Linked DNA regions of Homo sapiens: all the other regions are linked to region 1. The links are contacts of gene promoters, found by promoter capture Hi-C in human tissues and cell types (Jung and others, 2019). All regions are on one chromosome and are shown on one strand. Each heading gives the region's core, a stretch centred on a gene start or on the middle of the fragment in contact. The rest is flanking DNA. Distances are from core to core; before and after follow the strand shown. Region 1 holds the start of POP5 (POP5 ribonuclease P/MRP subunit). Region 2 has its middle 30 kb from the start of XLOC_009911. Region 3 overlaps SPPL3 (signal peptide peptidase like 3).

What was found. The method cuts DNA at HindIII sites, captures the fragments that hold promoters and counts their contacts. A contact is called where the count stands out against the background at its distance.
Region 2: a fragment that was not itself captured here is called in contact with the fragment with the promoter of POP5 in region 1 in 2 of the 25 tissues and cell types used here (mesenchymal stem cells and pancreas).
Region 3: a fragment that was not itself captured here is called in contact with the fragment with the promoter of POP5 in region 1 in 1 of the 25 tissues and cell types used here (neural progenitor cells).

Annotation. Positions count from the first base shown.
Region 1 is chr12:120,579,525-120,583,180 of GRCh38, reverse strand. POP5 (POP5 ribonuclease P/MRP subunit) reads left to right here and starts at 1,779. Exons shown (of 5, transcript NM_015918.4): 1 at 1,779-1,838; 2 at 1,924-2,066; 3 at 3,258-3,407; 4 at 3,584-3,656. The coding sequence starts at 1,819. The HindIII fragment of the contact is 9,700 bases long and covers 1-3,656 here.
Region 2 is chr12:120,933,143-120,936,798 of GRCh38, reverse strand. No RefSeq gene overlaps it. Among named protein-coding and RNA genes, the nearest start is that of XLOC_009911, 30 kb to the right of the region's middle. The HindIII fragment of the contact is 5,842 bases long and covers 1-3,656 here.
Region 3 is chr12:120,860,920-120,864,575 of GRCh38, reverse strand. The region is part of intron 1 of SPPL3 (signal peptide peptidase like 3); the gene reads left to right. Among named protein-coding and RNA genes, the nearest start is that of SPPL3, 42 kb to the left of the region's middle. The HindIII fragment of the contact is 8,740 bases long and covers 1-3,656 here.

The sequences.
Region 1 (3,656 bases), core at 530-3,029:
ACAATGGTACGTCCAAACAATGCAATACTGCACAGCTAAAAAACAGTATTGTCGCTGAAGAGCTGACATGAAAATATAGCCAAATGGCCAGGCGTGGTAGCTCACGCCTGTAATCCCAGCACTTTGGGAGGCCGAGGTGGGTGGATCACCTGAGGTCAGGAGTTCAAGACCAGCCTGGCCAACATGGGGAAACCCTGTCCCTACTAAAAATACAAAAATTAGCCAGTTGTGGTGGCACACACCTGTAGTCCCAGCTACTTGGGAGGCTGAGGCAGGAGAATCGCCTGAATCCAGGAGGCAGAGGTTGCAGTGAGCTGAGATCGTGCTCCAGCTTGGGCAACAGAGTGAGACTCCGTCTCAAAAAACTAAATAAATAAATACAAAAATTAGCTGGTCGTGGTGGCAGGTGCCTGTAATCCCAGCTACTCGGGAGGCTGAGGCAGGAGAATCGCTTGAACTCAGGAGGCAGAGGTTGCAGCCAGCCTCCTGGCTGCATTTATATAAAGTTTAAGAACAGGCAAAATTAATCTAGCAGGGTAGAAGTGGTAATAGTGGCTGATAGCAGTAAGCAATTTGACTGGAAGAGGGCTCAGGGAACCTTCTGGGATACTGGAAATGCTCTTTATTTTAATCTTGGAGGTGGTTATAGAAGTCTATCCATATGTAAAAATTCATTGAGATGAATACACTTAAGAATATGTACTTTATGTAATACCCCATAAGACATTTTTTTTAAAATACTTAAAAATAAAAGAAAAAACATAATTTAACAGAGGGCATAGTTCTCAAGCTGTTTTCTCTGTCTCAGGACCCCTTTACACACGTTACTGAGGGTGCCCAAGAGCTTTTAGTTTTGTGGGTTATATTTACTATGGACATTAAAGTTGAGAAACGTTTAAAAAACAATACACAATTCCTAGAGCAGTGACGTCATCACGTCAAGCAGCCTCTGGAAAACTTGACTGTTCACTCAGAGAGAATGAAAAAGACAAGTAACATCTTAGCATTATTATGAAAGTAATTTTGACTTCGGGGACTCCCAAATCGAGTGAATTTAGGAAATCTCAGTGGTCCCCAGACGGCACTTTGAGAACCACTGGCGCAGGGAGAAAATGACAGAAGAAAACACACTACACGACAACAGTTATTCTCTCTCAGTGCTGGGATTATAATTTATTTGCTTCTTTGTGCTTTTCTGTCAAAAAAAAAAGGTAAACGGAAATGGAAAATACAATGACCACGTATTGTTTCTGCGAGCAAAAAACGAGACGGCACACTCGCCTCCCTAAGATTGCTGAAAGGCCCAAACAGCAATAGCATATTTAGCTGTATGGAAGAATTAAACTGAGCTCAAACCTGAAAATAAAAGTCCGATTTCCCGTTTGTCAATGCCTGGGCTGTGAGGTGCAGGGTCTTGCCCTCAAAAGCTCCACCGTTCACCTTGGGGAGAGAATATACTCGCATACATAACTGTGGTGCAAGGTTCCCAGGGCCCCAAGGGTAGCGGCTACATCCTACACACTATTGTAAACTTCAGTGTGCAACAGAACCATCCATTACAGCTGCAAGGCGCTCCATCCCGGGGTTCAGCCCTCAAACTAGTCAGTGACCCTCCGCAGGACGCATGCGCGCTTACAAACGCAGTTGGGCGGGGCTTGAGAGAGCTGACAGACTTCGGCCTCTCAACTTTCTAGCTCCGCCCTAATATCCTGTCTCCTTCTCTGAATGGCTGAAAGGCTGCGGAAGCAAGCTTCCCATTGGCAGCGGACAGAATTCACATCCGGTTTGCACGCCGGACCGGAGAGCGCGGAGGCAGCCATGGTGCGGTTCAAGCACAGGTAAGCATTCCCTTCCAGACCCTCCCAGTGCCTTGCTGGGTCCTCGCGGCCCCGCTAGTGTCCACCTTCCTCTCGCCTGCCGCAGGTACCTGCTCTGCGAACTGGTGTCTGACGACCCCCGCTGCCGCCTAAGCCTCGATGACCGAGTTCTGAGCAGCCTCGTACGGGACACGATCGCCAGGGTGCACGGAACTTTCGGCGCAGCCGCCTGCTCCATCGGCTTCGCGGGTGCAAGGGCGCTGGGGGAAGAGGGGAACCCGGGAGGATGGCGGGATGTGGAGGGGGCAGGCGCCGGAGGAAGAAAGAAGGGGCACGAGTGGCCAAGCCCGTGCACCGTTTTTTGTAAGGTATCTCTTTAAGCGCCTGGGACCCCAAGCGAGAGTCCGAAATTAGCAGAGCGCTAAAAGGAGGGGCCCGAAGGCAGTGGGGCTTTGAGCTAGAAGCCTCTTTTTACCTGCTTGACAGGTAATTTCTGTAATTGGTTGTGATTGAATTTGATAGGGTAGAGAATTAAATGAGGGAAGCTGTGTATACTTCCTAGTAAGAGCTATTATATGACCGATTACATTAACATCATATGGAAAAAAATTGTCAAAAGTACTCCGGGAAAGCCCTTAAATAGTTGGTAAAGTACAGAACACATGATTGTCAATATATGTAAATACAGGATGAGCTAGGACAGAGGGGCCCTTCTTTCACACCACTTAAATTAGTTCCCACTTTAACCTTGTTTGAGATTGACTTCTGGAGAGTTAAATGCAGATAGACTTAACTCTCCTAAGTCAGGTGAGACTGAGAGCTGACTGCTACAATAATTACGGAGCCCAAATGCAGTAAAACAGCCTGTTTTTCAGGCAAGGGTTTTGTGGGGGTTTTTCCTAAATTAAAACGGATCGCCTCCTACCTGCTCCTATTTATTGAATTAACTAGTGAATTAGAAAGCATTTTCAATTCTAAATTCATTCACCAGTTCTGAGTGGTGTGCAACACAGTGGGTGTTTTGGCTTTTCTCTTTTACTCGCTGATAGATCTACGTGCCACTTGCCTACAACATACTTTTGGCACATAGTAGGCTCTGTTACTCCAAAGTTTTCCTTTTTTCGAGACAGTCTGGCTGTTGCCCAGGCTGCTGGAGTGCAGCAGCGAGATCGGGGGTCATTGCTGCCTCTGCCTCCTGGGTTCAGGCGATTCTCATGCCTCAGCCTCCTGAGTGGCTGGAATTACAGGTGCGCACCACCACACCCAGCTAATTTTTGTATTTTTAGTAGAGACGGGGTTTCATCATGTTGGCCAGGCTGGCCTCGAACTCCTGACTTAAAGTGATCTGCCCGCCTCAGCCTCCCAAAGTGCTGGGATTACAGGCGTGAGCCACCACACAGAGCAAAAGTTTTCCAAAATGATTTTTCTTTCCTGTTGTAGTTCGATATCTCAATGCCTATACTGGAATAGTGCTACTTCGATGCAGAAAAGAATTCTATCAGCTTGTGTGGTCAGCTCTTCCCTTCATCACATACTTGGAGAACAAAGGACACCGTTACCCATGCTTTTTCAACACATTACATGTGGGAGGTAGGAGTGAGGTGGTATGGCTACTGATTTTCAATTGGTGACACGTTCACAGTTCAGTCTAAACTGGTGGGTGGGTCTTGCTGCTGTCCCGCTAACAAGACACTTCCCCCTACCTCTGAAAGTCTGTAAGGTCGAGATCTTTCACAAGCTGTTGACCACAGTAACTCATATGCCAGGTACAATAAGAACATGTCAGAAGTTCCTAATTCAGTACAACAGGAGACAGCTGTTGATCTTGTTGCAGAACTG
Region 2 (3,656 bases), core at 823-3,322, 350 kb before region 1:
TTGCACCATTGCACTCCAGCCTGGGCAACAAGCGCGAAACTCTGTCACAAAAAATAAATAAATAATTCACCAGCCTGGTGGTGCGTGCCTGTGATCCCAGCTACTCAGGAGGCTGAGACGCAGAGGTTGAGGCTGCAGTGAGCCGAGATCGCTCCACTGCACTCCAGCCTGGGCGACAGAGTGAGATGCTGTCTCAAAAAAAAAAAAAAAAGAGAGAGAGAGAGAGAGAGAAAGAAGGCCTCCCTGAACCCTGATTTTCCCTGGAGACCTGAAGGATGAAGAGGAGTTAAAGGCAGAAGGGAATAAGGAGCCGGAGAAGCATTCCAAGCAGAAGGCCGGCACTTGCAGAGGGAGGGAGGCAGGAAGGAGGATTGCTCATTTGAGGAACTGAGAGCCAGCCAGTGAAGAAGAAGTGGGGCTGGAGCTGGGGTGGAGATTGTGCTGGGTCTTCAACTTTATCCTCAGGGCACTGGGGAGCCACTGGTGGTTTAGAACACAGGAATGACATGACCTGACTTTCAAAGGACTCCTCTGGCTGCTGTGAGGAGGATGGACCCTGTGTGGGTTAAGGGCAGAGGCTGAGAGTCCAGTGAGGAGGTTAACGGTCTCATCCAGGCAAGCAGTAACCATGTTCACACAAAAACTTATATATGAAAGCTCATAGCAGCTTTATAGTAGTTCAAAAGTGGAAACAACCCAAATGTCCATCCACCGAGGGAACAGAATGTGGCCTATCTGTACAATAGAATCATTCTGACCATAACAAGCAATGCAGCTGGGCACAGTGGCTCATGCCTGTAATCCCAGCACTTTGGGAGGCCAATGTGGGTGGATCACTTGAGGCCAGGAGTTCAAGATCAGCCTGGCCAACCTGGTAAAATCTCATCTCTACTAAAAATACAAACATTAGCCGGGTGTGGTGGCACAGGCCTGTAATCCCAGCTACTCGGGAGGCTGAAGCATGAGAATTGCTTAAGCCTAGGAGGCGGAGGTTGCAGTGAGCTGAGATCGTGCCACTGCACTCCAGCCTGGGCAACAGAGCAAGAGTCTGTCTCAAAAAAAAAAAAAAAAAAAAAAAAAAAAAAGAGGAATGCAGTACTGACACACTGCAACATGGATGAACCTTGAAAACATTCTGCAGAGTGAAAGAAGCCAGACACAGAAGACTGTAAATCGTATGATTCCATTTATATGCAATGTCCAGAATAGGCATCTCCATAGAGATAGAAATTAGATTAGATGTTGACAAGGGCTTGAGGTTGGGGGTGGTGAGAGAATGGGGAATGACGGTGAATGGGTGTGGGGTTTCTTTGGGGAAGATAAAAATGGTTTGGAAGTAGATTATGAAAGTGGTTGGGCAAGTTGATAGCTACACTAAAAACCACTGAATTGCACACTTTAAAAGGGTGAATTTTATAGTTTGTGAACTATATCTCAATCAAAAAAGGAGGAGGAGAAGGAAGAAGAAAAGAAGAAGAGGCTGGGCACGGTGGCTCATGCCTGTAATCCTGGCACTTTGGGAGGCTGAGGCAGGCAGATCACTTGAGACCAAGAGTTCAAGACCAGCCTGGCCAACATAGTGAAACCCCATCTCTACTAAAAATATAAAAATGAGCCAGCTGTAGTGGTGCACACTTGTAATCCCAGCTACTTGGGAGGCTGAGGCAGAAGAATCACTTGAACCTGAGAAGCGGAGGTTGCAGTGAGCCGAGATCACACCACCGCACTCCAGCCTGAACAGAGCGAGACTTTGTCTCATAAATAAGTAAACAAATGAATAAATGTGAGTAACATCCTATATTAGTTTCCTACTGCTGCTGTAGAAATTACCACAAATATTGACTTTACACAAGCTTATTCTCATAGTTGCGGAGGTCATGAATCTGACATCGGTTTTATAGGGCTAGTTCCCTGTGAGGGCTCTGAGGGAAGAATGTGTCCTTGCCTTTTTCATCTTCTAGAGGACCACCTGCATTCCTTGGCTCACATTCCCTTCATCGATCACTACAACCTCTTGTTTCCATCGTCAAATCTGCTACCGCTCACTCTGGTGTGCCCACCTCTTCCAAGGACCTGTGTGATTATATTGGGCTAGATAATCCAGGATAATCTCCTCATCTCAAAAATATTAATTTGATGCATCTACAAAGTCTCCTTTCCTATAATCATAGGTTCTAGAGTTCTAGAGATTAGGACATGGACATCTTTTTTTTTTTTTTGAGACAGAGTTTTGCTCTTGTTGCGCAGGCTGGAGTGCAATGGCGCGATCTTGGCTCAACGCAACCTCCACCTCACGGGTTCAAGAAATTCTCCTGCCTCAGCTTCCTGAGTAGCTGGGATTACAGGCATGTGCCACCACGGCCAGCTGATTTTGTATTTTTAGTAGAGAGGGGGTTTCTCCATGTTGGTCAGGCTGGTCTTGAACTCCCAACCTCAGGTGATCCCGCCACCTTGGCTTCCCAAAGTGCTGGGATTACAGGTGTGAGCCTGCTCCCGGCAGGACCTGGACATCTTTTAGGGGTTATTATTCAGCCTACCACACACTTACCAGATTTAAAATTCTATGATGTACACTTACCTACAGTATCTCATTTAGATACTTATGAGGTGTTATCATTCCTATTTAATGAATGAGAACGCAGGTCTAGAAAGCTTCATTGCTTAGCCACAGTCATATAGTCAAAGAACTAGAAACTCAAACCGGAGTATATGGCCCTAGAGACCATGTAACAGCACTACACACCACTTCTCCTCCACCAGGCTGCCTGTAAATCACGGGCCTTTGGCCTCTCATTTTCTTGTACAACTCAAAAAAAAAAAAAAAGAAGAGGAAGAAGAAGAGGAAGAGGAGGAGGAGGAGGAGGAGTAGGCGGTGGCAGCGCCATGGCTCAAGCCTGTAATCCCAGCACTTTGGGAGGCCAAGGCAGGAGGATTGCTTGACCCCAGGGGTTTGAGACCAGCCTGGGCAACATGACGAGACTTTGTCTCTACTAAAAACAAAAACAAAAAAAACTTGGCTGGATGCAGTGGCACATGCCTGTAGTTCAACTAGTTGGGAGGCTGAGGCAAGAGGATTGCTTGAGCTCAGAAATTCAAGGCTGCAGTGAGCTATGATTGTACCACATCACTGCACTCCAGCCTGGGTGACAGAGCAAGACCCTGTCTCTCTGACAGAGGAGAGAGAGAGAAAGAGAGAGAGAGAAGGAATGAATTGACCTAAGAAGGAAAATGGCTGAATTCGGGATATATTTTGGATGTGGGTTACTTAGGGGACACAGTGGGGCAGGAATTGGTCCTATGTGAGTCCCTGCATCCCTCAAGTGTGCCACTGGAAGAAAAGCAGAAGGAGCAGCAAGTATGGAGCCCATGTCAGGGTGTCACCAGCTCCCCAGTGTGAGCCACTCACAGAACGCAAAGGCCATGCAGTGCTGGGATTCAGAAAGTATCAGATTTCAAGGCCTGTGTGTCCTTGGGTGAGTAGCTTGGCCTCTCTGGGCCTCTGGATGGACTGGGGGCAGCGAGTCTATAAAGCCCTGAGCTGCCTTTCCTGCATTCTCAGCACATTATTGGAACCTGAGTGCATCGTGACAGCCCGGTGTGCTGACAGCTGGCAGAGTCCACACGCCTCTTCTACGCGTGGCTTCAGTGTCCTCTCA
Region 3 (3,656 bases), core at 637-3,136, 280 kb before region 1:
GGGCTTGATGACTTCCCAGGTTTTGTTTTTGTTTTTGTTTTTTGAGATGGGGTTTCGTTCTTGTCTGGGCTGGAGTGCAATGGCATGATCTCGGCTCGCTGCAGCCTCCGACTCCCAGGTTCAAGCAGTTCTCCTGCCTCAGCCTCCCAAGTAGCTGGGATTACAGGCATGTGCCACCACACCCGGCTGATTTTTATATTTTTAGTAGAGATGGAGTTTCACCATGTTGGCCAGGCTGGTCTTGAACTCCTGACCTCAGGTGATCCACCTAGCTCGGCCTCCCAAAGTGCTGGGATCACAGGCATGAGCCACTGGGCCTGGCCTACAACTTCCCAGTATTTAAAGACTTCTGTGATGAGATCAGTGGTAATAGATGGAATTTTTAGTATTGGATAATGAAATACATAAGCATTTTGAAGAGCTCACAACTGAGGAAACAAATATTAACTTACCAGTGCATGATGTACAGAATTATGCATGGGTAAGGATCCATTCAGAGTGAAGGCAGACATGGATTTTAATGTAACAGAGTACAGAAAGTTCATTGATAGGGTTTTAGATTTTACATTGGAGCTAACCTTTAGGAAACTACCATCTAGGCTGGGTGTGGTAGCTCATGCCCGGGATCTCAGCACCTTGGGAGGCCAAGGTGGGAGGATTGCTGGAGGCCAGGATTTCAAAACCAGCCTGGGCAGCAAGCAAGGCTCCATCTCTGCAAGAAAAAAAGAAAAGAAAAGAAAAAGAAAGCTACAAGAAAAAAAAAAAAAAAAGCTAAATGTGGTGACTTGACCCTGTGGGCCTAGCTACTTGGGAGGTTGAGGCAGGAGGATAGCTTCAGCCCAGGAGTTCGAGGCTACAGTCAGCTGTGATCACTCCAGCCTGAGCAATAAAACGAGAATACATTTCAAAAAGAATTAAAAAACCTACCATCTGTAGAATTTCATTTCAGTATTGAAGAATAATATCTACGATTACCTGAAAGGCTCTTAAAATACCACTCACATTTTAAACTATAGATATGCATGCAGTTGAATTTTCTTCATGTACTTGAACCAAACTATATATCATAGTACAGATTAAATGCCGAAGCAGATACGAGAATACTGCTGACTTCGATTAAGCCAGACATTAAAGATATTTGCAGAAATGTAAAACGGTACCATTCCTCTCACTAATTTTTACTTTCAAAAGAGTTATTTTTCATTAAAACTTTTTTTTTTTTTCTTTTGAGATGGAGTCTCGCTCTGTCACCCAGGCTGGGGTGCAGTGGTGTGATCTCAGCTCACTGCAACCTCTGCCTCCTGGGTTCAAGTGATTCTTCTGGCTTAGCCTCTGGAGTAGCCGGGATTATAGGCATGCACCACCACACCCAGCTAATTTTTGTATTTTTAGTAAAGATAGGGTTTCACCATGTTGGCCAGGCTGGTCTCAAACTCCTGACCTCAGGTGATCCACCCACCTCAGCCTCCCAGAGTGCTGGGATTACAGGTGTGTGCCACCATGCCTGGCCTAGATGTTGTGATAAATATATATTTGGTCTTTATCCCAGGTTCCTGGCATAATAGCTTTTATAATAAAGCCCTTAGAATTTCGTGATAGAGGAGAGAGGAGCATCTTTTGTTATTCATGAGAAGTCCCTTTCAACCCTACCTGAGTTTATGCTAATGAGCTGAGTCTTAGTGGGCTCCTAAATAGCTTCTGGATGATGACTGGTTGCTAGAAGAACCAATAGAGGGTTGGAAATATAACCCCTTCCCTCAACCTCTGCAGAGGGGAGAGGGGTTGGAGATTGAGCCCAGCCAGGAAAGGCCAGTGATTTAATCAATCATGCCTGTGTAATGGAACCTCCAAAAAATCCTTAAAAATTGAGTTCTGAGAGCTTCTGGACTTGTGAACTGGTGCTGGGAGGACAGTGCACCCACCGAAGGCATGGAAACTTTGCATACTCCTCTCAGCCCTCCATTCCTTGCCCTGTGCATGTCTTTTATTTTTCTGCTCCTGAGTTGTATCCTTTATAATAAACCAACAATAGTAAGTAAATTGTTTTCCTGAGTTCAGTGAGCCATCCTAGCAAATGGTCAAACCTGAGAAAGGGATTGTGGAAACCCCTAACTTTGTAGCTGATGAGTCAGAAGTACGGGTGACCTGGACTTGATACCGGCACCTGAAATAGAGGCAATCTCATGAGACCTAGCCCTTAACATGCAGGGCCTGTGACACCTTTGGGTAATAGTGTCAGAATTGAATTGATGAACATCTAATTATTATTGGAAAATTGGTTATTGACATGGAAAAAACCCACACATTTGGTGTCAGAAGTGTTAAGAGTAGAAACAGATCATAGAAATATGTGTAATTTATGTTAATGTATAATGAGTTTATTTTAAAATGAATAAATATTTTTCATATTCACAGTTTCAATGTCTAATATGGTAAATATCAGGAAGTATAATCTATATAAACAAATGCCCTTTGGGGTCCTCAACAAGAGTCCTGAACTAAAAAGTTTGAAAACTACTTCTCTGGACACTGTGGACATTATTTTCTGTAGTACTGCCTACATTGTAATTCATGTTCACTTATTTACTATTGTTTTGGAATCTTAATACCTTCAAGTATGTTGCTCAAAATTCTAGAATTGAAGACATGAAGATGTTGAGCACTACAGCCCAAAGTGATATTCCCAATCCTTTGAGTTCCCAGTCCCTCTCTTACCCCTAACTCCCTCACAGCCCTTCTGTTCTCTCCTTTTGGTATCTCAGAAATCTTGGGTATCAGAAATCATTTCATAATACAAGTAACAAGGAATAAGATAACCTGTTAGAAGATTGGATTGGTTTTTATATGTTACAATTTCAGGCATATGATTTTTAAATCTGCCAGAGAGGTGATTGTATACTGAGTAATATCAGTCAGCGTACTCCCCTGCCAGATAAACCAGGACTCAGTCCGCTGCTAGGATGCGTTTCAATGAAGACATCTGACCTGTGTGGTATGTCTTCAGGGCATTGTAGTTGACAGTAGTAATGCAAGGATCTACCACAGCCTGTTTAAAATATGACCAGAAATGTGGCTGCTGGAGTAGCTAGATGAAATATAGACCACACTGATAAAAAAAAATCTTACTCTTTTTCCCTTCCTGTTATTTATTGCCAACACCCTTTTCAAGGATCTGTCCTTTTGGAGAATTTTTGTACTTTGTCTCCTTCCTTTTTCTGTTTTTCTAGCATGTTCTCATTTAAGAATAAGCAAACTATGGCCTGCAAGCCAAATCTGACCTACAACCTGTTTTTGTAAATAAAGCTTTATTGTAACACAGCCATGCCCATTTGTTTACATATCATCTATGGCTGCTTTCATGCTAGAATGGCAGAGTTGATTTGAGAACAGTTGGCCCTGTCTCTGTGGGTTCCACATTCATGATTTAGTCAACCTCAGATAAAAAATATTTGAGGGAGAAAAAACAAAAGTAATACAAATGAAAACAATATGGTAAAACAGGTATTTATATAGCGTTTTCATTGTACTATGTATTGTAAGTAATATAGCGATGATTTAAAGTATATGAGAGTCCTGTGGAGCCCTGAAATGGGAGGAGGAAAAAAGTATACAGGTGGATGTGTGTAGGTTGTATGTAAATACTACACTGTTTTATA